Linked DNA regions of Homo sapiens: region 1 is linked to region 2. Evidence: promoter capture Hi-C in 16 types of primary human blood cells and fetal thymus (Javierre and others, 2016). All regions are on one chromosome and are shown on one strand. Each heading gives the region's core, a stretch centred on a gene start or on the middle of the fragment in contact. The rest is flanking DNA. Distances are from core to core; before and after follow the strand shown. Region 1 holds the start of MRPS18A (mitochondrial ribosomal protein S18A). Region 2 holds the start of DRC5 (dynein regulatory complex subunit 5).

The links. The method cuts DNA at HindIII sites, captures the fragments that hold promoters and counts their contacts. A CHiCAGO score of 5 or more calls a contact.
Region 1: a contact is called between the fragment with the promoter of MRPS18A here and the fragment with the promoter of DRC5 in region 2, in 4 of 17 cell types (megakaryocytes, activated CD4 T cells, M2 macrophages and 1 more). The highest score is 6.2, in megakaryocytes.

Annotation. Positions count from the first base shown.
Region 1 is chr6:43,686,388-43,689,107 of GRCh38, reverse strand. It overlaps MRPS18A (mitochondrial ribosomal protein S18A), which reads left to right and starts at 1,317. Exons shown (of 6, transcript NM_018135.4): 1 at 1,317-1,440. The coding sequence starts at 1,329. LOC124901320 (a long non-coding RNA gene) reads right to left here and starts at 146. Exons shown (of 2, transcript XR_007059586.1): 1 at 1-146. RefSeq lists enhancers at 947-1,558, 1,504-1,563. The HindIII fragment of the contact is 1,093 bases long and covers 1,022-2,114 here.
Region 2 is chr6:44,296,263-44,298,962 of GRCh38, reverse strand. It overlaps DRC5 (dynein regulatory complex subunit 5), which reads left to right and starts at 1,265. Exons shown (of 5, transcript NM_182539.4): 1 at 1,265-1,304. AARS2 (alanyl-tRNA synthetase 2, mitochondrial) reads left to right here. Exons shown (of 22, transcript NM_020745.4): 22 at 1-232. RefSeq lists a silencer at 1,272-1,351. The HindIII fragment of the contact is 7,791 bases long and covers 1-1,735 here.

The DNA of each region.
Region 1 (2,720 bases), core at 68-2,567, 610 kb after region 2:
CAGTTGTATTTTCTCTTTGGTACCATAAGCTTCCTTACAACACAAGTGAGTCCAACTTGTGAAAAGAGTCATCTCCATAACTGCTCTATTAACTAGCTTATGTTTATTGAGCCCTTTTGTTTTGTTTTGTTTTGTTTTGTTTTGTTTTTGAGACGGAGTTTCACTCTTGTCGCCCAGGCTGGAGTGCAATGGTGTGATCTTGGCTCACTGCAACCTCCGCCTCCTGGGTTCAAGCGATTCTCCTGCCTCAGCCTCCCAAGTGTCTGGGATTACAGGTGCCCGCCACCACACCCACCTAATTTTTGTATTTTTAGTAGATAGGGTTTCACCATGTTGGTCAGGCTGGTCTTGAACTCCTGACCTCAGGTAATCCACCCGCCTCAGCCTCCCAAAGTGCTGGGATTACAGGCATGAGCCACCACACCCGGCCGATCACTTATGTTTTATCACATCTAATCTTCAGGGTCTAGTCCTCCCCTAGGCCCTATAAAATAGATTCTACTCATTCATTCAACAAGTATATATTGTACTCTTATTATGTGTCAGGAACTATTCTAAGTGCTGGAGATGTGCGAGTCAACAGAAAACAATGTTCCTGACTTCATGGAGCTTACAGTCTGGTGAGAAGACACATACAAAACAAACATAAAACTGAAATTGTCCCAAGCACTAAGATGGAGAGGCATCTGGTGCTGAGAATGGGCAGTCAAGCAAAACTGTGGAAATAAGGTTTGAGGTGAGCTCTAAGAAATAAGCAGAAGCTAACTAGACAGCTAAAGAGCAGACAAAGGAAATAGCTTGTATCAAGGCCCTGGGGCTAGAGAGAGGTCTAAGTATATGCAAATCAAAGATCAGTGTGGCAGTGGTCAGGGAAGAAGGGGGTATCAATTCTATCCCAGGTCTGCCTGATATCCGATACTCCAGAGCCAGAGTTCCTAACCATTTCAGCCTCTCCCGTAGAGGTCTAGCCCCAGTCACAGAAGCTAAAAGTCCACAGCTCACGTGCAGTGAAGAGAAAGCTTTAAAGACATAGGTGGGGTGTTGCGTGCGATTTTCCTAAGGAAGCCTTCCAGGAAACGAATGCAACCTTGAAGACTTGTAGGCATTGGCAGACAGGAGCTAGAAGACCTCCCCTAGATCCTTAACACGAAATATAGGCTTGACGCAGAAGCCTCTCTTCGTATCCCAAAGCGGACAGGTGAGAGAAATGATGTGACAGGAGCAAGCGAACTACAACCCCGCCCCGCCGTTCCTGCCCCACCACTGCGGCGGCGGGCGCTACGTTCCGGAAGCGGAAATGGACGAGAGGTCAGGGTAGGTTTTTGAAGATGGCGGCCCTCAAGGCTCTGGTGTCCGGCTGTGGGCGGCTTCTCCGTGGGCTACTAGCGGGCCCGGCAGCGACCAGCTGGTCTCGGCTTCCAGCTCGCGGGTTCAGGGAAGGTGAGTCATGCGTCCCAGCAACCTCCTGAAATTAAGAAGAGCGGCAGAGACTGCTTCCGCCAGCCCCGGTGCGCTCCTTCCTACCTTTCCTTCGTCCGATTCTGAAACTTTGGAGGTACCGGCTCCCCAGGCGTGCTTAAAAGCCCCTTCCACACCCTGGTGCCTTATCTTGATCTCCTGCCCCTTGTGAGTATCTTCACAAGGCGGAGGAGGACGGAGAGAAAAGCCTGCTTACTTAGCAGGAGCAGACACTAAACCTGTCCTAGGGCTCAGAAAAGTTTTCGGAAAGGGTTTGCATGTTAATTCTTCCTTCCATGTTCTCCGAATCGCAGTCTCTTTTATTAAAGAGTCTCTGGATCACGAAGGAAGGCCATCTGGGTACCCTCCCAGAGCCTCCCTTTCCACTTTCCCTTCTCAAAATGCTGTGATCTGATGGCGGCGTTCTCTGCCCCGGGCCGCTAGTCTCCCTGTGAGGGGGAGGCCAAAGTGGAAAGGCCATTGAATAGCTGAGACATAGGCAAATGCAGGATGGTAGTTCAGCTTTTCATTAATCTTAATCTGGGAAAGCGGCCTGATTCGAGCATCAACTGAGAGTTTACTGAATGCCAAGTGCTATGCTTCAAGCTGTGAAGGAATTCTGGAGACAGAAAATACAGCCCTTTTTCTGAAAAGCTTAGGTTCTAATGAGATTATGTATATACACACTCCAATAAATGCAAGTTAGCCTTTTACGTGACGAAGTACAGGGAGACTCAGTTACTGGAAACGGCAAACCCAGTTGGAAGTTTTCATAAAGAGGATGTGTCTTGAGCAGGCTCACAAAAGGATGGAATCTGGCGGAGAGTGAAACGGTCTTTTAGGACATAGCCTTCCTTTGTGTACTCCTGGAAGCAGGAAAGGATGAGTGATGTGCAAAAGAAGAGATGTGGGGTTTTTTGAGGATCTGGCATAGTATTGGGCAGCATATCCTTTAACGAAAGCTGAGAAGTATCCAGTGGAAAAGAGTGATCATTGTTGTCAGAGGGAGCAGAAAAGTCTAAAAAGGGCCTAATGAAGGGGCCATTGGATTTGTCTCAGAAGAGGTCTCTTTGTAGCTTTCAAACAGCAATTTCAATAGAGTGGCAAACAAGGAATCCAGTTTGGAGAAATGAAAGAGATAGTTGATGAAGAGATGGAAATAGTAAGTATGTTTGAAGAATTTAGCCCGTAAGGGAAGTGGAGCATTTGCTAGAAAAAAAAGTCTGGATATTGCCTGATTAACTTATCCATTAGTAGACCCA
Region 2 (2,700 bases), core at 16-2,515:
CTCAAGCCTGAGCTGAAGCTGAAAATTGGCACTTCAAAGCAGGAGGAAGCAGAGATGGAGGAAAGCCCTCCTTCCCTACCAGAATGAGTCCACCTCAGACAGCCAGACTTTGGACCTCTGCCTTTGTTCCTAGATCTCTGTTGCTAGATGAAGGAAAGGGCCTCAGGGGATCCATCTTCAAATCAAGGGCTCCCTGGCTACCAAATTCTGTCTAGTAAAAATTATTCGAGCAGCGTGGGCCCGCCTGGCATCATTTTCTGCAGTTTCTCATTCTAATTAAGGCACTGATGATTTGCTGGTAAGGCACTGCTGAGGGCTTGAAGGGACCCAATCCCGGGTGCCTGGCCCCTCACTGCTTGCAAAGCAGCATCCTGGCCACTGGGGCAGTAGCCTGTTTAGCAGTGCTCACCACAGGCCCAGGTTCAAGCTCCTCCGCGAGCGCCAAGATGAGTTTTGGCACCCCTGATTTATTGATGAGTTAACAGAGCTTCGAGATGTTCATCCAGGGTAACCAACTAGTAGTCCTCGGCAGAGCTGAAGTCAAAGCTACCCTTTGAAAGCCCCGCCACCCTGGCTGCCTCTCCCTTCCTGAAGGCCAATTTCTTTTTTTTTACTAGCCGTCCCTCTGGTCTGTCCCTCTCGCCCTCCAGGAGATCTGGGGCCCCAACCACATCTTGTCGCGCCAGGGCTGGAAGAGAGTTTGGCACAGGGCATGGACTGTGTGAAGGAGCGCTGTGTTGGCCTGGAACCTTCCTGCGTCTGGTACCAGACCTTCAGCTGGGGGAAAGGTGGAAGGTGCCCTCCCTCCCGCAGGGCCTAAGGTCAACAGGAGGCCTCACGGGAGTTCCAGTGACTTCTACAGGTGCCTTGGAGAAGGTGCGTCCACCCTCCTCTTCTTCCACAGACGCTTTTCCTGGACCAGCTCCCTATCCATTGCCACACAAAAGCTACCAAGAGAGCACAAGCACTCCAGACCAGCAGCCCTGCCCGACCCCCGCCTCCCGCAGAAAGCCCACCCGTTCCTAGACACGTCCCACGGAAGCACAGGGCATAGCGCAAGGCCACAGTCCCACTACCCGCAAAGCGGCCGCTTCCACGGAACCGTCCCGAGGCCGGGCCTGGCCACCCTGCGCGCGAGTAAGCCGCGTGCCTGGCGCGCAGCGGCAGCGGCAGCGGAGGAAGCAGCGGCGCGCTCGTCCTCCCGGCCCGGCCCGCTCCTAGCAACGCGGGGCGTCCCCAACGACAAAGACCTGCGCCGGCGCGCGGGACTCTGCGTGAGGCGAGCGCCGGGGCTCCCGGAGCGGGTGAGGCGACCTCCGGGAGTGGGGACACCCAGCCCCGGTCTCCCTTATCGGGGCCCCCTCTGGCCGGCTGGGCCCGGGAGCCCCTCTAGCGTCCTCTGCCCACACCGGCCCGAAGCCCACGGGCGGCCATTGCCTGGGTTGCGTTTTCCGTGGCGGGGAAGCGCCGGTCCGTACCCACGGGAGACCCCACGCCCTCCACGCGAGGACGCCCCGCGCCTCCTCCCCACCACAGTCACTGTCTGCAAACCGTCTGGCCCGGGGCTGGGGATCCGAGTGAGGCGAGGGGAGGGACTGGGAAGAAGAGGGGGAAAGTGGGGCATCCGTAGGGCGTGGAGGAGAGCGGTCCCAAGCCCTGGGGCCCTAGGCTTCTCCGAAAGGCCGTCCGTTCCCATCACCCGAGGGCTGTAATCCCTCCCGCGGGTGCGGAAGCTTCCTCATCTCCCTACCTCCCACTGCACTGCCGGTTTCCCTGGGTTACCAAGGAGAAGCCAGCGCCTCTACACCCCAGGTAGGATGGGGGAGGGACTCCTGGCCTTTGGAGCTGAGCTTCTCTGCTGGGGTGTCTGAGCTGAAGGTAGGGAGGAGGGGTGGGAGACTCCAGAGCCGCTGGAGTCACTTTTGAGACAACAGACCTGAGTGGTCAGGAGTTGGGAGGAGGCCAGCCCAGGGGCTGTGGTAAGTGAACTGGCGGTTTCACCCAGCCCAAGTCCAAGCACACGGGCCGAGGCTCAGTTGGAGAAAGTTTTTTGCCCTTCCACAAGTGGAATTCCCAACTTGGGAGTGACTTACCCCAAAGTAAGACATGGTGGGCATGAAGGATATGGAGGTGGCTGTAGACAAAAGCCCAGAGCCCTGAGAACAGAGGAGGGCTCTCCTGAGGGGATCTGGGGTGGGAGCGGCTGAGAAGGCAGAGAAGGCAGTCAGAGCAGTGGGTGCAAAGCCAGCTCCTGGGGAAGTGTCCCGGGCACAGAGGCGCTGTCTGCCCAAAGAGGGCCGGGTGTCTCCACTTCTCCACTAAGAGGAAGGGAGGAGGGGACAGTTGAGGACCAGAACTGTGATGCACAAGAAGGTGAGAATGCAAACCTACAGCATCTTCCTCGTGTTCCCATTAGGGCAGGTGGAAGGAGCTCCTACCCAGAATGGTTAGATTTAGCTGGGGACCTGAGGAAGGATGGAGAAGACCTGAGACTTCCTGTGGAGGGAATATGCCAGGGGCAGGAGAGCACCACTCTGCAGCACTCTGTTGGGCTCCTTGCACCCTCCAAAGGATGCAGGCAGTGGTCCAGCCTTGCGGAAGTCTCCTATACCCAGCAGTGAACTGGAAGAGGGAGCCTGGACTATTTAGGTCAGCACCAAGGGTATAACCCTGGGCTCCATATTGGTGAACAAGAGAGCT